7 separate regions of the Homo sapiens genome follow, and all the other regions are linked to region 1. The links are contacts of gene promoters, found by promoter capture Hi-C in blood cells and fetal thymus (Javierre and others, 2016). All regions are on one chromosome and are shown on one strand. The core of a region is centred on a gene start or on the middle of the fragment in contact, and the rest is flanking DNA. Distances in the headings are between cores, read along the strand shown. Region 1 holds the start of PAX6-AS1 (PAX6 antisense RNA 1). Region 2 overlaps DCDC1 (doublecortin domain containing 1). Region 3 overlaps DNAJC24 (DnaJ heat shock protein family (Hsp40) member C24). Region 4 overlaps IMMP1L (inner mitochondrial membrane peptidase subunit 1). Region 5 overlaps IMMP1L (inner mitochondrial membrane peptidase subunit 1). Region 6 overlaps IMMP1L (inner mitochondrial membrane peptidase subunit 1). Region 7 overlaps ELP4 (elongator acetyltransferase complex subunit 4).

Evidence for each region. Contacts are between HindIII fragments. The CHiCAGO score rates a contact against its expected background, and 5 or more counts as called.
Region 2: a contact is called between a fragment that was not itself captured here and the fragment with the promoter of PAX6-AS1 in region 1, in 1 of 17 cell types (megakaryocytes). The highest score is 7.2, in megakaryocytes.
Region 3: a fragment that was not itself captured here is called in contact with the fragment with the promoter of PAX6-AS1 in region 1 in 2 of 17 cell types (megakaryocytes and M2 macrophages); the score reaches 6.1 in megakaryocytes.
Region 4: a fragment that was not itself captured here is called in contact with the fragment with the promoter of PAX6-AS1 in region 1 in 1 of 17 cell types (megakaryocytes); the score reaches 6.8 in megakaryocytes.
Region 5: a fragment that was not itself captured here is called in contact with the fragment with the promoter of PAX6-AS1 in region 1 in 1 of 17 cell types (erythroblasts); the score reaches 6.1 in erythroblasts.
Region 6: a contact is called between a fragment that was not itself captured here and the fragment with the promoter of PAX6-AS1 in region 1, in 1 of 17 cell types (megakaryocytes). The highest score is 5.8, in megakaryocytes.
Region 7: a contact is called between a fragment that was not itself captured here and the fragment with the promoter of PAX6-AS1 in region 1, in 4 of 17 cell types (megakaryocytes, endothelial precursors, erythroblasts and 1 more). The highest score is 8.4, in megakaryocytes.

The regions. Positions count from the first base shown.
Region 1 is chr11:31,814,266-31,817,937 of GRCh38, forward strand. It overlaps PAX6-AS1 (PAX6 antisense RNA 1), which reads left to right and starts at 2,301. Exons shown (of 3, transcript NR_033971.1): 1 at 2,301-2,374. It also overlaps a transcript of PAX6 not described here. RefSeq lists a silencer at 112-366, enhancers at 1,330-2,091, 3,613-3,672 and a promoter at 3,538-3,672. The HindIII fragment of the contact is 5,434 bases long and covers 1-3,672 here.
Region 2 is chr11:31,336,188-31,339,859 of GRCh38, forward strand. All of the region lies in intron 1 of DCDC1 (doublecortin domain containing 1), which reads right to left. Among named protein-coding and RNA genes, the nearest start is that of DCDC1, 32 kb to the right of the region's middle. The HindIII fragment of the contact is 1,062 bases long and covers 1,549-2,610 here.
Region 3 is chr11:31,409,052-31,412,723 of GRCh38, forward strand. All of the region lies in intron 2 of DNAJC24 (DnaJ heat shock protein family (Hsp40) member C24), which reads left to right. Among named protein-coding and RNA genes, the nearest start is that of DNAJC24, 41 kb to the left of the region's middle. The HindIII fragment of the contact is 3,368 bases long and covers 45-3,412 here.
Region 4 is chr11:31,456,380-31,460,051 of GRCh38, forward strand. IMMP1L (inner mitochondrial membrane peptidase subunit 1) reads right to left here. Exons shown (of 6, transcript NM_001304274.2): 4 at 1-7. Among named protein-coding and RNA genes, the nearest start is that of IMMP1L, 51 kb to the right of the region's middle. The HindIII fragment of the contact is 213 bases long and covers 1,687-1,899 here.
Region 5 is chr11:31,476,262-31,479,933 of GRCh38, forward strand. All of the region lies in intron 1 of IMMP1L (inner mitochondrial membrane peptidase subunit 1), which reads right to left. Among named protein-coding and RNA genes, the nearest start is that of IMMP1L, 32 kb to the right of the region's middle. RefSeq lists an enhancer at 1,062-2,632. The HindIII fragment of the contact is 3,598 bases long and covers 29-3,626 here.
Region 6 is chr11:31,495,181-31,498,852 of GRCh38, forward strand. The region is part of intron 1 of IMMP1L (inner mitochondrial membrane peptidase subunit 1); the gene reads right to left. Among named protein-coding and RNA genes, the nearest start is that of IMMP1L, 13 kb to the right of the region's middle. The HindIII fragment of the contact is 8,362 bases long and covers 1-3,672 here.
Region 7 is chr11:31,511,788-31,515,459 of GRCh38, forward strand. All of the region lies in intron 1 of ELP4 (elongator acetyltransferase complex subunit 4), which reads left to right. Among named protein-coding and RNA genes, the nearest start is that of ELP4, 3.9 kb to the left of the region's middle. The HindIII fragment of the contact is 930 bases long and covers 1,238-2,167 here.

The DNA.
Region 1 (3,672 bases), core at 1,051-3,550:
TCGCCAGAGCCTGCCCAGAGCTTCTAGCCAGTATTGATGCGTCAACATGAGGTGAGGCAAGCATCTCACCCGCACCGATCCCTGGCATTCCCCTGTGCCCACCCCATCAGGCCTTCGGGGAGGCAAAGAAGTGCCCACTTCTGGGGGGAAGTGCCTCCAGCTCCCAGCTTCAGAACCAAGAGCCTCCCATCCGGAGTTCTGACAGTTCTGACACCTCCAAACTCTCTCTTTCCCCGGTCAAGCAGAGGCGCAGCGCCGGCGCGCTGGAAAGGGTGAAGACTGGCATTTTTTGGAGAAGGAAAGTCTTGGCAGACACCTGCGTCACTTTGTAGTGCCCCAAACGTCTCTCTTTTTGCAGACCCTGGGAAGGTGGGATCCCTTGTCCGCGGAGCTGGCAAACGGGTCCAGTGAGCCCTAAAGGCAAAGGCTCCCATCCCGGCCGCCCAGTCCCTGGTGCCTCCCCCACTTCCAGGCCTTTGTCCCTCTCCTTTCTCCAGCAACCTGCCGGTTCCCGCTAACCCGGCAGCCTCGCCGAGCCCAGAGCCTAGAAAAGCCAAGAAGATCCCAGAGCCGCCCCGTGGCACCTTCAGGCTGTGGCCACTGCTCGGCTTGGGGGGAAGCCGCGGTGCCCTCGCCCTTCCTCGCCTCCTGCCAAATGGCCAGTGCTAGGGGCTCCCTGGGTTCAGTCCTCAGTCCTCTTCCGTTCGCTCTGGGAGGCCAGCCTGTCTCTCTCTCTCTCTCTCTCTCTCTCTCTCTCTCTCTCTTTCTCTCTCTGTCTTCTCCCTGCCCACCCCCAAAATACCTTTAAAATAACATTGTCCAGTGGAGTCTCCCAGCAAAGGGATTCCTAGCAGCCCAGCGGGTCAGACTCCCAAGGCTTTGCCTCCCAGTCCCTCCATGCTGTTGTCCAGATAGGAGTTAGGTTTAAAACTCCTGACATGTAGGACAACTGAAATCAGCGGCACTCTCCGATTTTTGCAAATAGGGTTCCTAGAAAAGTTTGCTTTCCATTTCATCACCCTGTGACGATCCCCCCATCTCTCTTTTCCCTGTAACCTCTGCCCCCAAGAGGCAAGAGTTCAGCTTCAAAGGAAAAGCAAGCAAGTCAAGGCCACCTCAGTCCCTTCTCCCTGGATATCCCCTCTCTAAACCGCTGCCTATTCTAAAGGCCAACGACCCGGTCCTGCGATTTGTCCCGTTGTAGACCTGGGAACAGGCAGGCGGGAACTGGGGGCTTTACTGGGGGATTTGAGGCTGGGGAGGGGGAGGGAGCAAATGTCATGGCTGGCTCGCTCAAGCATCCAGGGAACCGAAGCTAAGCGCATCCTGACGGGCTTTTAAAATGACATTGATTAGGACAAGCTGTTCCCAACCCCAGTAAGAGTTAATCTGCCTGTTAATCAAGGCACTAAGGGGCTCAATGCGAGTTTTATTAGCGACAGGAGAACAGAGGCGGCAGCCAGGGATCAAAAGCCGGGATCCCATATATTTGTCAGCGCTATCTCCAAAAAAAAAAAAAAAAGTATTTTCAATTTGAAAACAATTCGGCGCTTTTCGTCACTTCCTAACCCAGTCTCACAGAGGGTGACTTCCAAACCTGGCTAGCGGGGAAAACCGCTGCCCGGGGGACAGAGGGGCTGACAGGAACTGCGGGTTGGCTCAGCCGAATGCGGCCGGGGAGAATTTAAGAATTCTCAGCCCGCGCGGCCCGATGCCTCTGATTCCTCACGAGAGGAAAGGGAATGAAAAATGAAGCAACAAATGACACCACCCAGGCTGGCAGCCCTCGTTCCCGGCCAGACCCCGCTCCTCAGGCCCGGCTCTGGCGCCGGGTGGCGTCCAGCCCCTGCACGCGCGGCGCGGCCCGCGGGAAAGTTTGTGCAGCGAGAGTGACTGTCCTTCCGCCTCGCGCGCGCTGCCCCCTTCTGCCCCGGAGGGGCGTTGGGTTCCCTTCGGTTTTCCTTTCCAATTCTAAAATAAATAAATAAACTCCGGGCCCTGGGGAAATCTGAATAGTAATTCCAGTCATCCAAATTCTATGAGAGGGTCTGAGGAAAAAAAGACAAGCCTATCACGGGCGCCCTCCGATCACGAAGGGCACGGGCATGAGAAGGCGACAGAGGAGGTCCTCGGCTCGCCCTGGGCGCGGAGCGAGGACTCTGGTCAGAGGTAATTATGTCACCGCGTTTTCTCGCCGTGACAGCCGAATAAACACGATCTCCAATAAACATCTCTAATGAGGGAGGAGGCCCGAGGATGGCTGGGTTTGATTTATGACTGGAGGAGAAGGTCCACTTCCCACTGCGAAGCAGGCGACCTGCTCGCCGCCCAGCTCCAGGGAGAGGAACCCGCGGAGGAGAGGATCCCGGCCCAGGTAAGGCGTGCGGCCGGACTGCCACTGCGCTCGTCCCCCGTTTCCAGGTGAGGTGAGCAGGGGGCGCCACCGCTCGGAGTCGGGCGGAGGTCCCAACACCTGTCACAGGTGACTGAGCTCCGAAGGTGCTCCCAGAAGACCTAGAAAGGGGGCGCAGGAGCGCGAGTGGGAGTGGGGGTTGGGGGCTAGCCGGGGCCTGGCCCAGAGGCCGCCCCAAACTCCCGGGCGGGGTTCTTGGGTGCCCCGCCTAAGCCGGCCTGGGCGTCTCCAGCTGCTTTTAGGGCCGGGCTCCCAGGACTTTCGCCCGGCTGAACCACAAGTTAGTCTAAGTTTGGGTCGTCCCTTCCCTGACTCACTAAGGGGACACTTCCGGGCCCCGGCTCTGGCCCTCCAAGGGCCGCAGGGTGGTGGGCGCTTCTCTTTCCCGGGCTTGGCGGCCCGGCTCCCATGGCGCCCGCGCGCTTCCCGCCGAGGCAGCCAGCGCAGCGCCCGCAGTAACCGGAGCCCGCGTTCTAGCTCAGTGAGAATCGCTAATTATTAGGTCTTCCGAAGTGAAGCTCAAATCACACGCTGGGAGCTTTACGCGCTGCCCAGCTCTGTCGGCCGCATTCTTTCGTACTCCGCGTCTTTCTGAGAAACGAACCCCATCTCTAGACTTTGTTGCGGTCCAGCCATCTGCACTTTGCAACCGCGGGAAACTTCTGCTGCACCTCGCCCGACCCGCGGCAGGGTGTCTTTAAGCGCTCCAGGCGCGGGTACGGACTTTCCCAAGCGTGGATGTCGTGAACTGCGATGCAGAGGAGGTCTGGATGCAAAGTGCGTCCCCACCTCCTGCATTTTTCGCGGTCGCGAGTGGCTTTAGCAGACAGCAGCAGCAGACTCCCGCCCCCTACTCCCAGCTCAGGGCCGGACTGGAAGTCCACTCTTAGGAGTGGAACATTTTGCTACTTTTGCAGAAGAGCACACTCGGCAAAGACAAGTCCCTCCTCCACCCCCCTTCCTATCCCTCCCTCAGTAACTCGCTTCCATCTTTGTATGCCTCCTTTTAAAAGCAAAAATCAAGCCCCGGGGCCACTTGGGGCGGGCTTTGATTTGGGGACAGCAGTCGCTGGCAGCGGAGAGGCCCCGCGGGCCCCGAGCCGGGCCGGGGCCGGAGCCCGGGCGGTTACCTGGGAGCGGAGGGCGGGGAGGCAGGTGAGCCTGGCAGCGCCGGTTCCCACACTTCTCACCGCCGCTCGGCAGGGGAAGTGGCAGATCTGACAGCCGCGTTCTACGCGAGGACCTGCCCCAGAGTTTAA
Region 2 (3,672 bases), core at 830-3,329, 480 kb before region 1:
GGAGGGAATTGCAAGTTTAAATAGGGTTGTTAGTGTAGGCCACATAGAGCTGGTAGCATCTGGGCAAAGATATGAAAGAGGCAAGAAAGTTTGTCATGCAGATACCCAGGGAGACCCAGGAGGGTGCCTTAGGGCAGGCATCCAAAAGGTCCTAAGGTGGGATATATCTGGCAAGTGTGAAGAACAGCAAAAGTAGATGAATAGATGAACAAGGAAGAATGTAGTTGGGATGAGGTTAGAAAGGGTATGGAGGAGGTGGACACAACACAGGACCTTGCAGGACATTGTTAGGACTTTGCGAGAACTAGTAAGCTCATGGAGTGTTTAGCAATATGATTTTTTTAAAAAGACAATTTTGAATTCTTTGTTAAGAATTCACCAAATGCATTGAAATAATTGTATTGCAATGTCCTAATGTGTCCATATGTTAGTATTTTCTAATAATTGCATAAACTTTGTGGCAGAGACTGCCAATTGTCTGCCAATATCCATTCCTTGTTCCTTCTACAAAACTAGAATCCCTGATTTTTAACTGAGACATATGGCTGCCTAAAATAAAGACTGTATTTTCCAGTTTTCCTTGTAGCTGGGCAGGACCATATGAACATGTTATGGCCAATGGCATGTTAGTGGAGATGGTCCATGCAAGTGAGTGTACCCTTCTTTTTCCTTCCTTCTGCTACCTAGAATGAAAACAATGGCTAGTCCTGGATTGGTCATCTTTAACTTTGATGAGATGCTGAAAATGAAAGCCAGGACTGAGGGAAGATTGAAGGAGTCTGAACCTCTGACAACATGGAGTACCATACCAACCCTGGACTATCTACCTCCAGACTTTTACATGAGTAAGAAACACCTAGTTTGTTCAAAACAGTATTAATTTGGATCTTTGTTACTTGCAGTTAAACCTAATCCTGAAATACCTGACATTCTCTTGAAGTAAATTGCTTTCAAAAACCTAAAATACATGGTATTTACTTAGAGCAAAGAAATAAGGATAACACTAGAATGGCTTAAAATATAAATTTAACTCAGAGTCTAGTAATTTGGGACTTTGGGCCTTGCAGGGTTGAAGAATTCAACTGTTTGTGTATCCCAAACTGAAACTATAAAAAGTAGCACTCTACAGTGATTGCTACATAAGATGAGACTGTGGTTCTAAGCTTTTTAACAACACTTTTCTTTAAGAATTCTTCCCTGGTTGGGTGTGATGGCTCACGCCTGTAATCCCGACACTGTGGGAGGCTGAAGAGGAAGGACTGCTTGAGTCCGGGAGTTTGAGACCAGTCTGGAAAACACAGTGAGACCCTGACTCTACAAAAAGTAACTTAACTGGGTATGATTGCACACACCTCTAGTCCTAGCTACTTGGGAGGCTGAGGCAGGAAGATTGCTTGAGCCCAGGAGATTGAGGCTGCAGTGAGCCATGATCATGCCCCTGCACTCCTGCCTGGGTGAGTGAGACCCTGTCTCAATCAATCAATCAATCAATCAATCAAACTAGCCTAGCTGTCAAAGATCAGATTAAGGTTGCTGTTTTTCAACCCAAGCTTATTGTGTTAGGTGACCTCAAAGGAATCATCTTTATGTTGAAGCACAGAGTCAGGGAATAAAAAACCAGTACTCAGGCTTAAAAATAATGTCTAGACGTGATCTTTGGCTGTGAACATGGGATTAGCTATAGACTGGAAGTCTACTAATTTAGGGGAAGAGGAAGGAGCAGTGTTAAATTACTGAAGAAACCACAAAGCTGGCCGAAAAACATGACTGACCTGTATTCAAATCTCATGCCCACATTTGTATCAGCAGGAAGCAGGCTGCAGATCTGTTCAGCACTCCAGAACAGCAAATTCTCCATTGACCACATCAGATGTGGTCAGGAAGTACAATGTACAAGGAAGACCCTTTCCAAAAGGCAGAATTAGGAGTACTCTGATGAACTAATCAAGGAAATTGCTCCATTGCTAGAGAAAGGAACTTTTACAATTCCTACCTAGCCTAGCAGAATTGATAACCACTATAAACCAGTGACTCTTGTGTTAATCCTATTCTCCTCCTTTCCAAATATACATCCATTCTGTTAGGTGTGATGTGGCAAATGCATTAACTTTTAGTTTATAGGTTACTAGACCACCTGGACTTAATGAAAAGGACAGTGCATTAACCCAACAGCCTAGATTCTGAGCCATATTCAAATGGATCATATTTGGGGGTTCACATACATAATTAAAAGCTAGAACAGGCATGTATGATCAAGAATAGGTGGTTATGTTCTATCTACAGGAAGAAGGGCGTACCAAAGATATTTTGGTGGCTAAAAGGTTGGATTGTGGAGTAAACTGTTAGATGTTCACTAGAATCTCTTCCCTTTTACAGTGTCTAGCTGAAGCCTTTTTTCCATCTACATGTTGCCACTTGACCACATGACTAAATTCTGGTCAGCAGAATGTAAGCAGAAGTGGCATATGTGATTTCTGGGAACTGTCACCAAAGAAGGGGGTATGGGGCATAATTTTCAGCCTTCTTTTCTTCCTTCCTGATATCTGGAATGTGATCATGGCTTAAAGCTGGAATAGCCATGAATGCACCATCTGTGACTTTGGGAATGGAAGCTTCTCACAGCACAGCAACAAAATAGAAGATCTTAGAGCATTATACTAGCCCTCCAGACTTTTATATGAGTAAGAAATAAGCCTTTTTTTCTTACCCGTCCTCAATGTAAACTTTACATTGTAAGTAAGAAATAAACTTTTATATGAGTAAGAAATAAACCTCTTTTTCTTACCCATCCTCAATGTAAACTTTTCTTAACATCTTGTACATGCTATTTATTTCCAGTCTCTAGACCTTTGCTCACACTGCTCCTACACTGTTGATGATTTAGAAACTAGAAGCCAACTTGGTATAATGAAATAGACTTCTTTTTTCCATTTCCCAAAGTTCATGTTTAAGTCAGTTGGTTGCCTGAAATTAAGAATGAATTTTCCTATGTGCTATGGTTGGAATGTTTGTGGCCACCCTCCACCCCCTGCCAAATTTCTAAGTTGAAACTTAATCCCCAATGTGATGTTATTATGAGGCAGAGCCTTTAGGGAGGCAATTAAGTCATAAGGGTGGACTCTTTTTACAACGCAAGGGCACATTATCAATAAGGAAGCAGGCACTCACCAGACACTGCTGGTGCCTTGATCTTAGACATCCTAGCTTCCAGAACTGTGAGGAATAAATTTCTATTGTTTGTATACGATTCAGCCTAAGGTATTTTGTTATGGCAGCCCAGAATAAGATACTATGGAAACAAATGTATACATTGATCAGTTTCCTTGCCTCATTCAATATATGCTAGTAATACCTGAATTAACTCTCCAATAATATTATAGTTAAAAAAAATTTTATGAGAGCTGAGACTAGTCTGTCCTGTTCACTTTGCATTCATAGTGCTTAATTCAGTGTCTAGGACATAGTAGGTATGCAATAAATATTTATAAAAGAAATATGGGAAATTGTACTTCAGATGCCAAGAACACATTTGTTCACAGCAGCAACATTGTAATCACAGAAGAAAGGATTCCTTACAGGACTAAAGTAGATAGTTTTGACAAATTTTCAATGTTAATTCTTTCTATCTAAACTAGCCAAATAATTTATCATCCAAACTGGGCCTGTCTCAGG
Region 3 (3,672 bases), core at 479-2,978, 410 kb before region 1:
CTTGAAAGTAATAAAACAATTTCCATAAACTAGTGTGTAATTCAAGCTTTTCACTAATTCATGTTAGTTTTTCCATTAATTTTTTGGTTTTCTGTTGTACTTGTTTTTCTATTAATGGAAGAAATTCCTTATTTTTCCTTTATGGCTTAGAAAGATTTGCTAAATTCCTTTTTAAAAATTTAGACATGTCTGAAGATGTTTTTCTGTTGATATTGTCAACATAAAATGAAAAATGCACAGATCTTAAGTGTTAAGTTTGGTGAGTTTGATATCATGTAAATACCACCCCAAATAAGATATAGCACATTTCTGTGCCTCCAGCAAGTTCCCTCATGCCCCTCTTTCTTAATTTCCACTACCTGTTCTCACCTGGAAACCAACTTTTTGGTTTCTGTCGCCACAGATTAAATGTACCTAAATTGGGATTTCATGTTCATGTAATCATACAGTATGTACTTTTTGTTCTTGCTTCTTTTACTTAACATATATTTTAGATACTCATTTGTGTTATTGAGTGTGTCATAATTTGTTCTTTTTTAATTGTTGAGGAATATTTCTCTTCTATGGATTTAAATAAAATGTATTTACCTATTCTGCAGTTGATAGACATTTATGGTTCCAGTGTTTTAGTAAGACTGTTATGAATAAGACTGTTAATCTATTCTTCTATGAATCTTTTCGTGGATGTGTGATTTTCATTTTTATTGATCATGGAGTAAATGTATATGTAACTTTATAAGCAATTGCCAAATTGTTTCCTGTCAGCAGTATATGAGAATTCTGGTTATTTCATATCTTATCAACACTTGGTGTTATCAGCATTTTTTTTTCTTTTTCTTTTTTTTTTTTTTGAGACAGAGGCTTGCTGTGTCATTTAGGCTGGAGTGCAGTGGCATCATCTCCGCTCACTGCAACCTCTACCTCCCCAGTTTAAGCAATTCTTGTGCCTCGCCTCCTGGGTAGCTGGGACTACTGGTGCGTGCCACCACACCTGGCTAATTTTTGTATTTTTAGTAAAACTGGGTTTCACCATGGTGGTCAGGCTAGTCTCAAACTCCTGACCTCAGGTGATCTGCCCACCTTGGCCTCCCAAAGTGCTGGGATTACAGGCATGAGCCACCACCACACCCAGCCAGTCATTTTTATTTTAGCCATTCTTTTAGATATGTAGTAATATCTCATTGTGATTTTAATTTGCATTTTCCTAATAACTAATAAAAAGTTTATTTCCTAATAACTAATAAAAAAGTTCATGTGCACACTGTCTGTTCATCAGTTTTCTTTGAAAAAGTATCTGTTCAATTTTATTCATCTGGTTTTTAATTAGTTTTGTCTTTTTATCATTGATTTATAGGTTTTATTCATGTATTCTGATACAAGTCCTTTGTTAGAAATATATGCAGCCAGTATTTTCTCTCAGTCTGTGGCTTGTTTATTCATTTCCTTAGTGGTATCTTTGATGAGCAGAAGGTTTTAAAATTTGATGAAGTTCAGTTTATCAGTTTTGTGTTACACAGTTTATGCTTTTTATTTTCTGTCAAAGCACTGTGTGCCTACCCTAAGAGGCAAAGATATTCTCTTGTTGCCTTTATGGATTACTTTTATGTGTATGATTCATTCTGAATTAAGTTTGGTTTATGGAATTAGAAGGATTGAGGTTATTTTTTCTCCCACAGGGATATCCAGTTGTTTCGAAACAATTTGTTATATACTTACCTTTCCTCATTGAATTGCTGTGGCAGCCTTGTTGAAACTCAGTTGACCATATATGTATGGTCTGTTTCTAGGCTATCTTTATGCTAGTACTACAGTCTTGATTACTGCTGAAATTTTGATAGGGATTGTATTAATATATCAGTTTGTCCATTTTCCCTAAACTGATATATTAATTAATGCTTTAGATTACATCTGTCTTTTATTTGATAGGTGAATGAATGAAGTGGGACTAGCTTTGGGCTCTCAAGAGTAGGAAGGTCTTTGGCTAGTGGGGATTAAAAGAAATTAAGGGCAAGAAAAAAAATAAGACTTGACAACAGAAGGAAAATGACTGTGGTCTTTTAGGATCATAATGAGTCGACCTCCCACAGGATAGGTCAGATTTAGAAATAGTAGGAACAAAATTAACATAGACTTTGAGATCGGAAAGTCTTTAAACCTAGGATTAGGGGCTTGTTTTCCCATTGGCAATAGAGAAAAATACCATATTTTTAAGAATGTGTGTAATGACACCATTTTATGAGTAGCCCTTGTAATTGAAACTTCTTAAAACATTCTAGTGTCTTGCATTCCAATTTTAAATCATAAATATATTTGGACTGGGTTTTAATTTCTCATAGCAGTAAAAACAAACTGTCAGAAACTTGGGTGGTTTCAAATATTTATTCTTTTATAGTTCTGGAGAAGTCCAAAATAATTATAACTGGGCTGAGTTCAAAGTGTTGGCAGCGCTGCACTCCCTCTGGAGGATCTGGTGGAGAATCCATTGCTTGTCTTTTCCAGCTTCTGGAGGCTGCAGGCATTCCTTGGCTTGTGGCCACTTCACTCCAGTCTTCAAGGGCAGCATTTCAGATCTCTCTCTCTCCACTGTCTTCACATCACCGTCTCTTCTGTGTGTCAGCTCTTTCTCTGCCTCTTTCTTCTAAGAACACTTTGAATACATTTAGAGCCCAACCAGATAATCCAGCAAAATCTTCCCATTTCATGAACTACAACGTAATCATATCTGTGAACTCCCATTTTCCAAATAAAGTAACATTTACAGGTACCAGATATTGGGACTTTATATATTTGGGGGCCATTATCAGCCTACCACAGACAGTTACTCCTTTTCTTAGACCTTCACTTTGCTCTGCAAGTTGCTGTCAAAACACATTGGACCAAGGCTTTAAGCATCCCAAATGATATACTTATTTTCTTGCTATAAGTGTCATTTTTTAATGGAATGTACCCATTAAATAAATGTCATGGAATCTGAATAGACTTAAAGCCTCAGATGGCGAGCACCTTATTTCAATTAATAATCAGGAAAATACCAAATTAGGGAAAGAGATTGAATTGTACTTTGACTATCATAGAACTGATTTGTGACTCATAATAAAATTTAATAATATTTTTTAGTTTAGGGCAGCCAGGAATTAATTCCTGGTTTTATAGGGCTTTCTGGGTCAGATTGGTGCATGATCAGGCCTAACCTCTTCTATTCATTGTACCAAGCAGACTTCCTATATTGGCCCATGACAAATTACCTACCTTTTGATCTTTACTCCTACTTTATAGATACAAATTTAGAACAAGTTCTCCAGGGCCTTAATGCTTGTGACATACTGAATTAAGAGTTTTCCCCTGTAAACGTATCATAAATGTATCCTGGCATATTTGAATATGTTACATATAATAACATTTACTTATACTAAGCTTGTTAGACAATTCTTAGTGTAGTGTTAGAGGAATGGGTCAGCTAGAGAACTTTAATGCAGCCAACTCCACTTTGGCTTAGGGATATTGCCTTAATATCCCAACTTTAGAGATTGCCAAAACCTCAGTATAGAAATAATTTTTATGAGCATCATTTGATAAATCATGGGCAAAGAAGATGAAACAGTAAAGCCTTAGTTTCCTTTTCTCCAGTGCTTATATTAGTTTAAATATCTAAATGTTGATAACTGATAGATT
Region 4 (3,672 bases), core at 543-3,042, 360 kb before region 1:
GTCACCTCTGAGGGGGAAAAGTCAAAGAAATGTCTGTATTATTTATTAAGCAAAAACACATGCATGGCACTGCTTTAATACTTTTATAAGACAACTTAAACAAAGCCATAACCTTTATCCTCTCATATACTTACTCTTCCACACATTTACTGGCTTTGAGAACCTTTGTGACTGAATACTTTAGGTGAGAATCCAACAATAAGAGTGATAAAAAGGCTATCTAAAATTTCTGATAATTTCAGAAGATTCTAAACTTTCAGATAATTCTACAAGAATTATCTTTTGCATTGTATCCAGTATGCTTTACTCCTGTGTCCAAATTCTTAGAACCAAAATTGTGGAAAAACAATTCTACATAGGCCGGGTACAGTGGCTCACAACTATAATCTCAGCACTTTGGGAGGCTACGGCAAGAGGATTGCTTGAAGCCAGGAGTTCACGGTTGCAGTGAGGCTAAGATCGTGCCACCATGGGCAACAGACTGAGACCATGTCTCCAAAAAAAAAAAAAAAAAAAAAAAAAAACCACACACACAAAACAAACAAACCAAGAAAAACCCCAAGTGAACCAAAAAAAGAAAAAAAAACCCTCCACACAATTCTATATAAATACTAACAAATTAAGTAAATAAATATTGCGGTCCAGCCAGTAGCACTGATTGACTCTAGAGCACACTAAAAAGGTAAAAGCATCATCCATGTTTCCCTAGAACTCAAATAATTGAGGAATGATAGCATGTAAGTCCTATAACCCATATCAAAAGAACTTATATTTGAGAAAAAAAATCAAAAGATACAACAAAATAAAATGCTAAAAGCTGCCTAAATATACACTCTGAAAAATAAAATGAGATATCAAACATATAAAACCAATAAGGGTCTGATTACATACAGAAGTCATGATTTATGGAAGAACTGACAATCTATCTGGTAATAAAAAATAAGAAAGATCCTAAAAAGTGAAAAGGAAGAAAGATAGAACGTAGGACTAATGACCACAGTCAAACAGAACACAATACTCTTTCTGCATAAAACGAGCAATATGTGAATTCTGTTGACTAACACACGTTTAAAAGGATTTAACATATTTGCTTATTAATTGTACCTAGTTCCAGAAATAGTTTAATGAAGCATATGTCAAAATAATATTAAAAGTCATAAGAATAAAAGGAAAATTATGAAGAAATCAGAAACCTAATAACTGCTCTATAGAAGCATTAAAATGGGTTCTAAACTCTTTGGGAGCCAAGTCAGAAGAAATTAAGACCAGTTACATGGAAATCATTAATTAATAAAATAACATTTAGCTTGGGAGGTAAGACAAAATTTTCCCTAACAACTAAATCAAAGAGAAATTCACAAGAAACTTTCTTATATAAGAGAATAAAAGATACCATCTTTATCAGAAATTTTACACAGAGTGCAGAAATAGTATTTACAATGATGATCTCTTGAGGCTATTCTTGGTAAGAGTTGAAAGGTAGCAAATCGTTACATTCTATAATTTGGAGGCAACACAGTGTTGCCTTCTTTTGAAAACAGAATAAAGGTATTTTCTTTCTAACCAACTAGAACCATGTCAGTGGATCTGTTCAGATGAACAAATTTGCAAAGATTGTAACACGCCATCAAAGTTGATTTTGGGTAGCTTTGGAGGAAGAGACGTTTTTCCATGGGTGTCTAATGAAGCTTAAGTTCTTTGATCAAATAATCAATATGACCCTTAAAACAAACTTTGCACTCGAATGGCAACATAGAAATCATAATTCAGTCGTGCTGTTTTGTAGAAAGTAGTATAAATAAACTTTATTTCTGGTAGTCTAACTAGATATATGCATAGCGTTTAGATCAAAATACATATCGGCTGGATTCTTAACTCCTTCAAATAGTTTTAAAAGGAAGCTTATTAAAAATTTTCTCATTTATATTTATAAACATCCTTATTATTCTACTACACAGTAAGCTTTTGAAAACTAGTGTCAATTATCTCATTAATCTTAACATTCTCTATAATGTATGGTACATCTTATAAATTAGGTGCTCACTACTATTTGTTGAAAGAATAAGCAATAGTAAAAATCTGACTGTCTCAAGGTTGAGTGTTCTGTGCAGTTGACTGAAGAGACATCCATGTGCTTTAGATACTAGATATGCAAACTTTTATTCTTGCCTAAATGGAAGGTTATTTTACATTTAGAAACAGGCAGCTAACAACAGGACACCTTGCCAGGGGTCAAAGATTCCCCTGAAATCTTGAGTTCTGTGCTGTGGGTAAAAGAAAGAGAATACTCAGGACAGTAATATTTCTTAAGTAAAAGTTACCAGCTGGCTATCTTGGCTCTAAAAGTTACTTTGGTATATCTCATAAATGCCAGATTTTGAGCTGTCCTGTAACCTGGATGAATAGGGTACAAAATAAGATCTTCAAAGAATCTGAATTCATTTACTGAATGTAGTTATTTGTTTCACTTATCTGAATGCAACGAGTAATTTTTTTAAAAATATCAAGCTGTGTATTCAAAAACTATTCAGCCAACAAGTTCATCTCCTCATTCAGGATGCCCAAGGATTATTGTGAATAAAATTATGTCACTGGCATGGAACACAGATGCTTGGTTTCATGCTACAGTGGGGCTAGGTCTCCAGTTAATTCAAAGGCTATATAAGGATAATTTGATATAAGTTAAAAAGAAAAGGGAGCAACAACACAATCTATTATATAAGTTTTATTTTATAATTCCTGTATCTACAATTAAGTATATAGAAGTTGTTATGGGTAAAAGATTTGAAGAAGAATTACCTAGGGAGCATGCCAAACCATACAGGTTGACCAAGAGAGTTTCTATCTGCAGAATCTAAGGCTGGTGAAAGATCAGTAAATGTGAAGAAATGTATTCTTAACAATTTTCAGTAATGTGAAATAGGTTATAGCAAAGGTGAATAGTGAAAGAGAAGTGCCTAAACCTACTTAATATGCCATAAACTAAACACTAGCTCAAGGGAATCAAATCTGTAGTTTACTGAAATGAAAGCAGGCATAGATTTTTTTCAGAATTATAAAAAACAAATGGACTCAAAATTTTAGGGTATCAGAGAGGTGCTCTTTAGAAAATATATTAAATTATTAATACTTGACATTCATTTGGAATAAATCATTCTCATAGAGTTAATTGGAATAAAGGGTATCACAAGGATTGGAACCACCACTTGAAATAGGATTTTTTATCATTATTATTTTTTTGTGAGATGGAGTCTTGCTCTGTCACCCAGGCTGGAGTGCAGTGGCATGATCTCAGCTCACTGCAACCTCCATCTCCCAGGTTCAAGCAATTCTCCTGCCTCAGCCTGCTGTGAAATAGGACTTTAAAAGGTTTAGTGACACACAATATTTGCCCAGGAGTTATTCAACTTAATATAATTAATCAGGAGACTCATAATATATACAATTCCTGGTTCTCAGCCATATACAATGATGTAATCTAAAAATCATCAAATGGGCTGGGCACGGTGGCTCACACCTGTAATCCCAACACTTTGGGAGGCTGAGGTGAGCGGATTGCTTGAGCTCAGGAGTTTGAGACCAGCCTGGGCAACATGGCGAAACCCAGTCTCTACAAAAACTACAAAAATTATCTGGGCGCGGCGAGTATACACCTGTAGTCACAGCTACTTG
Region 5 (3,672 bases), core at 578-3,077, 340 kb before region 1:
ACAATGCAGTTTACTGGAAATATTGGCAAGCTTTCTCATTTATTCATTCAAAATGTGGTAAAAGTTTGGAAATACAATTTGAAATACAGTAGCTTGGAACCAGTTAAACCAAACCCGGGAACTCTGTATAAATTTATTATATTTGCTGACTTTTCTAGTAAAGACTTTATATGGAAAAGAATAAAAGATACTACACATAAACAGAGGTGGTAGTACATTAATGGTGTGCATCAGGTATAAAATTGATTATATTTTAATTATTTTTATAATTTCAAGAAAATACTTTAGTCACCTATATTTAGTTAAAATGTTAAAGTTTAAAAACATTTAGACTGAGGCTGTATAATTTATTTTTTAAAAGATACAGCTACTAAACAAAAGAGCTATGAGATAAAATCCAAGTTCTATGAATAAATATTTTAAAATTAAGTACTCTAAGATCATAACACTGACAACACTAATTATCTTTTCTAGTCTTGGCAGTTACGTTGCATACTGTTTGGGTGACTGATGGGATAATTTCACTTCATTTTCTCTCAGTTTATATTGGATCGTGTTAGAAAAAAATATTAAAATAATTAACACCTCCAGCCAAAGTACTTGATAAAGTTTTTAGTTGAAATAAAAGCTAACAAAATCAATTAACTAACTCACTGATTTTTAAGCACACAACTAAACCTCCATCTAAAGGAAAAGTTACTAAGAATCACTGATTTTTAAAAATAAGTCATTCAGTATTCCTATTTACTCTATACTTTTATATATTAAAATCATATATTTCACCAAAAGCCCTTTCATCAGCAGTTTCAGCTAGCATTACCTTCATTACAAAAAATATAGGTGTCTATATATTTCAAATTATGTTTTATTCACCAAAAACATTTCATCAGTAGCAACTGAAGCAGTCAAAAACAGGTAAAACATATGACGAAACATATTATTTCAATTCCTTACAGCTAGACATTTTGATTAATTTCATAGTGGCTCTATAGCCAAAAGAATATAAAAGTATTTAAATTAATATTTGATCTGAAATATGAATTGTTACCAATAGTAAATAATTTGCCATTCAATTAAAAAAACCAAGACATCATTGATCAACTTTTCTATTTCAATAGCTTAATAAATTTTGAATCATATAGCTTAGTTTGTATATGTCTTGCATAATTTTAAGTCATATAGCTTAACATAAGGTTACATATTATAAATAATAAAGAGCATATTCTTTGCCTTGATGACCTGATTTTTTGTTGTTGTTGTTTATAAAATTAATCACAGTTAGCAGGGCAGAAATAGCTTTGAGCTTCATGAATGACATCCAAGAGATGGGAAAGGATTAGTTCTCAGTTGCTGCCAGTTATAGCGCCAGGTGGCTTTTTCTGCAGTGAAGGTGTTACCGATAATCCCATTACACTGGTACTAAATCTTGCAGACATCAAAATTATCACCAAGGTTCCTTTTCATCCCATCCTTTCCAAATGACTGGAAGTCGCTTCACCTGAAAGAAGTCAAATCCACATGCAGCTGCTGTTTTAGCCGGCAGCAAACTCCCTGAGAATGTCAGTCGTGATTCAGTTTTGCTGTGCTGGTTGGCCCCCTATTCCCTGTCCAATAATACATCTGTTAAAAAATCCTACAGCTACAAATCAAGTTTAATCCTACCAGGGACCTCATGTTGGTCTTGTCTTCCAAAAAGGCAGCAGATTCTGCTGTCTATCTCTGCTAGTATCTGGGGAATACCCTTTAAATCCCAGCCCTACTTAGAAGAATAAGCTAAGGATCACAAAACATGACCTCAAAAACCCTGATATGACTATATTCTGACCCAGAGGCATTCATTCTAGGTGAAGATTAGAACTTTGCATAATAAGATTACACAGCAAGTGAATGATATCAGGGGACTATCCATATGCAGCCGCCTGGTTTTGTATAGACAGCCTGTGCTCTGCAATATGCAGTGCAGACGAAAAAGAGCTTGGTCTTTCTAGCTGAAATAAAATAGATTCACATAAATTAGTTGGCCATTTCCAGATTTCTAAATCCCCTATTACATCTTTTATTGACAGCTCCTGTGAGGATAGCACAAATGTTATTCTTTTTTATTCTGTGCTTCTATAACAATCATGCTCTGTAATTGAAATGTACATAGATTATGTCTAGAAATTAACATCTTGTTTGCTGTAATCTTGGATTACAATTGACTGTGTACATAATAAAATTAGGAAATCAATGGACGGATTTATCATCTCCAAGAAACTAGAGGTATTGTTTAAAGAATAGTTTAACATTTTGTGCCAACACTTTAAATGCAGGAGTCACAGGGAGTAGTCAATAAAAATGTGAGTCCAAGAATACAGCAGGCATTGGCTAATAACTAAAAATGATATTACATAAAATTAGGTCATAGCCCTCGAAATTTAGAAAATGTGAAAAACTCAGAGATTTCATAAATATGGTTTTCTCTAACTCATACTTGTGCAAAGTCAATTATGTATGACCATTTTAAATAAAATATGTATGCCTACAGTATTTTATATAAATTTCCTTGATCATTTTATAACTATACTTTAAAATATTTGAATCAAGTCAAATAAATTGTAATTCAAGGTTTTATAATTCTTAACTATATGTTTTTAAAATAGTTATCAGTGAAGAAATCTCTCCTCACATTTAAATATGTACAGAACATTTTAAATGTATAGAATTCTAGAGAAATTAGGAAAATGATATTTTATAATCAGCTTCTTCCACCCATGACATAACAGCTATACCAGCTTATCTAAGCAAATTTATATGAAAAGACTGATTCATATACATTTACACAAACATCTGTCCAGAATAAATCTAAGGATGTGAAGACGTTGTAAGTTTTATATAAAAAAAAAGTACTAAGATTTGCGATGGAATTCTTGTAAAACTAAACTCCTAAGTATACTTGCAATATGGCTTACTTGACAAGTTTGATTTGCCGACAATTTTTGAGGAACACTCCACATTTATTACATTAGTCATTATCACGTCATCATCACAATCTCTTTAAACATATCTGTACAATGTCTGATAAGTACTCAAAAGTCAGGTGACACAATTGGATTTTATGTATCACACAGAAAGATATAAACCAATGGTATTAGTGCTATAAAAAACTTTATGTAATTTCAACTACATAGCACATGAATATTCTTTGGTTACCTTGACTAGGATATTACTAGAAAAATCAGAAATGTAAAAAGTACATATTTTTGTTATGATATTTTGTTAAAACTGTGTAATACTTTAGAACTATACTGTTCAATAAGGTGGCCACTAGCCTTATGAGGCCACTTAAAAGATGACTAGTCCAAATTGAGATGTACTATAAGTATTAAACACACATTGGACTCTGAAGACTTAATACAAAAGAGGGAAAGTATTTTGTTAATGTTTATATTGATTACGTATTGAAAATATTTTGGTTATAGCTGATTATGTGATTCATATTATGTTTCTAATGGAAAGCACCACTTTAGCAGGTCTTATATTTTCCTATGTTCCTAAGCCAAATGAAATGGTGCAACTAATAAAAATACTGAAGCAGAGGGTTAATTATGGAAGAACAAACATTCCAGTGTCAAATCTGGTAGATAAGCTTAGTAAAGAAAGTATAAAATCCTGTCATTTTAGCTTCTACTT
Region 6 (3,672 bases), core at 327-2,826, 320 kb before region 1:
TCACTATCAGCATTTTGGTCAAAGCCATTCAACAAGTCTCCAAGAAGTTCCAAACTTTCCCACATCTTCGTGTCTTCTGAGCCTTCCAAGTCTCTAGGAAGTTCCAAACTTTCCTACATTTTCCTGTCTTCTTCTGAGCCCTCCAAACTGTTCCAACCTCTGCCTGTTACCCTGTTCCAAAGTCAATTCCACATTTTCAGGTATCCTTATAGCAGTGCCCCTCTCCCTCAGTACCAATTTACTGTATTAGTCCATTCTCATGCTAGCCTCAGGCATGCACAAAGAACTGCCTGAGACTGGATAATTTATAAAGAAAAGAGGTTTAGTTGACTCACAGTTCTGCAGGGCTGGGAAGGCCTCGGGAAACTTACACTCATGGCGAAAGGACTTACACGCTGATTTCAAATGTTGATATTATTATTTTAAGCCCTGAGTCAAAATTTAGTACAAAGTTATAGTAAGCAAAAACGTGGTACTGGCATAATGACAGATCTATAGACCAATGGAATAGAATAAAGAGCACAGAAATAGCATTGACATAAATGGTCAAATGATTTTTGACAAGGGTGCCAAGACCATTCAATGGGGAAAAGGCAGTCTTTTCAACACATGGTATTGAGAAAACTAGATATCAACATAAAAAAGAATGAAGTTGGACTTTTGTCTTACACCATATAAAATTAACTCAAAATAGATCAAAAACCTAAATGGAAGAGCTAAAACTACACAACTCTTGATTGGCCATGATTCATTGAATATGGCAACAAAAACAAAGGTCACAAAAGAAATAAAAATATATAAACTAGACTTTCTCAAATTAAAAACTTTTGAGCAACAAAAAATACTATCACAAGGAGAAAGTATTTGCATATCATACATCTAATTAAGGGTCACGGTCCAGAATATATAAAGAACTCCTATAACTCAAAAACCCGCAAAAAAAAAAAAAACAAAGCCATTACTCAATTCAAAACCGGCAAAGGTTTTCAAAAGACATCTCTCCAGACAAGGTATACAAATGGCCAATAAGCACATGAAAAGATGTTAAACATCCCTAGTCATTAGGGAAATGCATATCAAAACCACAATAAGATATCACATCATATGCATTAGGATGACTATTATCAAAAAAACAGAAAATAACAAATGTTGCTAAGGATGTGGTGAAATTGTAACCCTTCCGCACTCCTGGTGGGAATGCAAAATGGTACAGCCAATGTGGAAAACAGTTTGGTGATACCTTAAAAAGTTAATCATAGAATTTTCATATAATCCAGCAATTCCATTGTATGGTATATACCCAAAGGAAATGAAAACAGAGATTCAAACAGATACTTCTATGCCAATGTTCACTGTAGCACTATTTACAATAGCCAAAGGTAGAAACAACCCAAGAGTCTATCAACAGATGAATGGATAAACAAACTGTGATATATGTGTGTGTGTGTGTGTGTGTATATTATAAATATGTTATCTTATATATATGTTATAACTTTTTAAAATTTTATTATTATTATACTTTAAATTTTAGGGTACATCCTAATGCTAAATGATGTTAATATGTTATAATTTACATATGTAATCTGATATAGGATAATCATATATTATAATAGATAATCCTATATATAACATATATTATACATTATATAATCTATAATTTTATATATCTAAGAGTATATTATATAATCTTATATATATCTGATATATATGATCTTATATCATATATAATACAATCTTATATATTATATACAATGATATATCATCTATTACGTATATCATATATATCATCTATTATATATGATAATCTTATATCATATACTATAATCTTATATAAGATTGCACATGTTACATATATGTATTACATATTATATATATATACACACACAGATGGTCCCTGACTTAGCAATGGTTTCACTTATGATTTTCAACCTTATAATGGGTTTATCAGGGTATTAAATACATTTTCAACTTATGGTATTTTCAACTTAAATTGGGTTTATCAGGACATAACTCCATCATAAGTCAAAGAGCATCTGCAATAGATTATTCAGCCATAAAAAAATGAAGTTTTAATATATGATACAAAATACATGAACTTTGAAAAACATTATGCTAAGTGAAAAATATTATGCAAATATTAACAAGAATATAGTATGATTCCACTTATATGAGGTGCTTATAATAAGTTGGCAAATTCACTGAGAGTAGAATACAGGTTATTAGTGGTTGAAACAAGAGAGAATAACAAGTTACTGCTTCTTGGGTACAATATTTCTTTTCTTTTTTTTTTTTTTTTTTTGAGATGGGAGTCTCGCTCTGTCGCCAGACTGGAGTGCAGTGGTGCGATCTCCGCTCACCGCAACCTCCGCCTCCTGGGTTCAAGCAATTCTCCTGCCTCAGCCTCCCAAGTAGCTGGGACTAGAGGCACGCGCTACCACGCCCAGCTAATTTTTCTATTTTTAGTAGAGACGGGGTTTCAGCATGTTAGCCAGTATGGTCTCGATCTCTTGACCTCGTGATCCGCCTGCCAAAGTGTTGGGATTACAGGCGTGAGCCACTGCACCCGGCGGGGTACAATATTTCTTCTTGAATGATGAAAAAGTTTTAGAAATAGTGGCAATGATTACACAACATTGTAAGTACTCTTAATGTGACTTCACTTATACTTAAAAATGATGAAAGTAGTGAATTTTATGTTACGTATATTTTTATCACACATACACAAATTTTTTTAAAGGGCTCAAAACCTTGAGCCAGTTCAGAGGGCAGACACAAATACTTCAGTTAGAAAATCAAAACTGGGCTACTGATAAGTAGTAAAGTGAACATATTCCAATGCTCAGTGAGAGAAAAACGATCGTCATGTATGATGATAATCTATTAATTTTCATGTGAGTTGATTTAGGAAATGTTAATAGAAAAAACATAATTTGCTTTATATTCTTAAAAAATCCAACCTTAGAATACCAAATGGACTATAAAATTATTTTCAAATCTTTAATTTTGACTAATGGAAAAATTGTAATACCAAATGACCTTTAATGTTATTCTTTGAACCTTTCACTTTGGGAAATAAAAAATATAATAAGCAGAACTATAAAATTAAAATTCTAAAGGTTTTAAGAAGGAAATATTTTTAAATTACAAAGGATTCTGTTTCACCACTGGACAACACTGTTATAAAGTTCTTTAATCTGGGTTGAAACTGAAATTTCTATGCCCTGGAGAAACAAAGAGGTCTAATTTTTTTTTGACAGGATTAAAACAAGTCTTATGAAACTCAAAATCTTTCACCTCCCAGCTACCTATATTCCAGTTACTACCTCAATTGCTTTCCCATCACTTTTTCTCACCATATTAATCACTCTGAATATATACCTATTTTAGCAGAGCAAATATGCTTCATGTTTTATGCTAATATCCATAAACTGGCTACATAAAAAGCTACCCTGAGGAGGAAACTAAGCCTGTATTTGGACTGAAGTGGAAAATAGTGGATAAGAGTATGAATTCTGTAGTCAGACAGGCTAGCTCTATTGTGAATCCTAGATCTTCCACTTACGAGCTTTCTGACCTAGATAGAACAAGTTACTTATCCTTTATGTGACTCCATTAACTTCTGAACACACTCATCTATAAAATGTGTGAGGATTAAATAATATATAAAGCATT
Region 7 (3,672 bases), core at 453-2,952, 300 kb before region 1:
ACGTGTTTCTTCAGAGATACAAACTTGAACAGTAATTTTTAAAGTTTCCGTATTTGCTTGGAATGGGAGACTCGAGTAGGGTATTTAAGTGTAACAAGCTTATGCTAAAAATTACTGTTCATTAAGATGGTAGAAACAGTATTGGTTGTTGAATACTTTGAAATATATTTTGCATGTATGCAGTGAATTCTCAAAGTGCACAAAAGTTGAAGAGGTTATAATAGAATTGACTACATCTTGAAAAATAAATATGTCCAGAAGTATTTTAGTTTTAACCTCTTAATGACATTTTTGTATCTGATTTTCTGTATAAGCAGTTTAGACTATGTTATTACTTGAAAATGTTATTTGACTCAAGTTGCGACAAGCCTAATATGACTATATTGTGACAAAAGGTAATGATAATAGGATGTTATGGTGTTAGAACGGTAAAACTATACTGTAATATTGTGATTATTGCCTGAATATATTATGTGGTTACTGTGTAACAAGTAAATATTATAGCTTCCGTGTAGTACGGTGACATTTTACTACTGCCACCGTGACGTCATTGTAATTTTAAACATGGATGCAAAATATATTTGAAAGGCATCATACATGCTAATTGTTAGTCATTTGATGATACACTGATAATTCCATTACTTATTCCAAAGCATTTCATGAATTTGAAAATTTTCAATATCTGCATTTTTCAAATGACCTAATATATAATGTTTTTGTTCTGACAACCTAATTGTATTATGAGATATTGATATACATTTCCCAAGTTAGCTACATTAAAATTGTTTAAATTCCCAGATTATCTAACCCATGTTCTCAACCTTGCCCTTCTGGGATATTTATATTGTTATTTGAGGACACTGTATGTAAATAACACTTATATTTTGGAAAAGGAAAGATAGATATTCCATCGATTGAAGAGGTACTCCATTTCTCTTCCAGGGGTTTCCAAAGAAAGATTATAGCAACTAAAGAATTCTGGCAGAAATGCCCCCTGCCCTCCGCCCCCCCTCCCCCGCCCCGCCCACCCAACCCCATTCCCTGTAAAAGGTATATACTCCATCATAGAACCATATATCTAACCTGGAAGAATTAACCACAACTTCATCCTCCAGAAAAATGCTTAAAGGAAGGGTAACTGCAGATTTGACCTCTGTGCTGTTAAATTTTGATAGTGAAGGGAATGTCAGATAGGGATTTGAGGTAAATAATAGTCTAGGAAGAGTACCCTGAAAGAAGCTTAATGGTAACAGCCATTTTTTAACATTGATGTCAAAAAGTAAACACTAGTGGGCTTATTTCCTTTATTATGTTAATGTGTAGCATGGGATAATATACATTGAGCTTGGACTACATATTTAACACAATCTTGGTTATGATATTTTACCAACCAATATAATTAGCTGTATATTTAAGAAAAATGTATTTTTTATTGCTATGTAAAATTATTTCATGTGACTTAATCTATAGAACTATTCACAGTTCCTAGCTTTATTTTGATTCTCATGTTTGTCCAGCTAATAATTGTGTCATAATGAAGAGTAGTCACTATGTTTTATAATGCTTGGGGAAGAAAAAGTAGAGTTGTTATCAAAATAACTGCAATTAAATTTGAGATCCAGCATTAATTAAGTAGTTAAGGCTATTACTATGAACCAAGGAAAGAATATGAACTTGTTTTTTACATTGCATTTTCCCAGAAATACTTTTTTGTAATTTTAAGCAAAATTATTCCTTTATATAGAGGTCTGGAAAGGACTGGCATAAATCACTGTTATCTTTCTTGACTTTCATTTCTTTTCCCTTTTACTTTCTCTAACATTGAAGAAAGGCTTTCATATTCTAGTGTATTAATTTGACCTCATTTACCCAAAATGTATAGCTTAGTCAGAGGTTTCTATTGGGGAGAGTATGGGGATTGAATGTTGTTCCTTTAAAATATTAATAGTACTAATGTAATTGTCTTACTACTGCATGAATTGAAATAACAACAAAAGCCCTTTCGTTGTCTTATGATTTTGAAAATCGTGGAAGATACTGGCATTTGCAAGATCTTAAATTTTCTAATATTATTTCTTAAGTATTAAATATCTTTTCTGGTTTTAAGAAAAAATGCCTATTTTTAAAATATGTGAAATCTTGATGAAATTAATTGTCTAAAATATCAAGCTTGCTGAGTATCTTTAACCTTTCAAACCTTTATTTTGATTCTCATGTTTGCCCAGCCAATAATTGTGTCATAATTATTGAAGAGTAGTCATGATTCTTTAACCTTTCAACCTCTTGTATTCTTTTGTGTACATAAAGTACTCTACTTTTATTTTTAGTAAGATGGAAATAAGTATACATCTTAAAGACATCTAGAAGTAAAAACAAGAGTTTATTTGCTGGCCAGGTGTGGTAGCTCACACTTATAATCCCAGCACTTTGGGAAGCCAAGATGGGTGGATTGCTTGAGCCTGGGAGTTTGAGACAAGCCTGGGCAACATAGAGAGACCCTGGCTCTTCAGAAAATACAAAAATCACCCAAGCTTGGTGGTGCACACCTGTAGTCCCAGCTACTCAGGAGGCTGATGGGGGAGAAGCCCTGAGCCTGGGGAGTTCAAGTCTGCAGTGAGCAGTGATCACACCACTATACTCCAGCCTGGGTGACAGTGAGACCCCATCTCAAAAAAAGAAGAATTTATTTTGCTTAGTGACTTAGAAAGTGTGTTGGTAATTTTTCTAAGTTAGGATGAAAGGGGAGAGGAAATAGTAAACAAGGCCGTTTTACTACTTTCTTGCCTGTTTTCATTATAAAAATAAGATGATTGTTTGCTTACCCTATTACTTATCTGTAATACATTGTATTGGGAAAAGATATTTCAGTTTTAATTGGTAACTATTAGTGTGAGGTCTATGTTGCTTTTGGAATTAGATAAAATTACTAATGGATTACTAAATTTAAAAGTAAATTAAAAGCCAGCCTTCAAAGAATATGTCAGGATACTCTGTTGTGATTGGTTGGTTGTTTTAGCTTTTTATTTATTTATTTTTTGGTTGGAGCATGGCTACAAACATTCAAACTTTTAAGTTAAAATACAGCTAGACCTTCCATTTATCAAGTAAGAGACATCAAAATACCTTATACAAAGGTATCTTGTGGAAATGTTTTGAGATCATGTCTCACTAAACTCAAGTTTAGAAGAATAGAGAAATTTTGCTGCTGTATGCATGTGTGTGTGTGTGTGTGTGTGTGTGTGTGTGTATATATATATATATATATATATGTATAGGTCCAAATTATTCCTCTTAAAACACATAGAGTAAAAGCTTGATTTTTAAAAGCTTTAGTTAATAAGTTTAAATTAGTTAATGAGTTACATCTTATTCCCCACAACTATCCTTCACAGTGACCAAACTTTACTACAGCCAATCTAAATGTGAATCTAGTGAATTTACATGATAGAACCTTCTTACCTTTTTGTAAAAGAAGTTTGAGAAGATATTTGGTGATAAAAATGATTTTAATATGTCCCCATTATGTCTTAATGTTCAAATTTTCTAAACATTAGAATTTTAATACACATAAGATTTTTTAGGTTATGTGGTCACTCATGCCTGTAATCTCAACACTTTGGGAGGCCAAGGCTGGAGGCTAGTTTGAGCCCAGGAGTTCAAAACCAGCCTGGG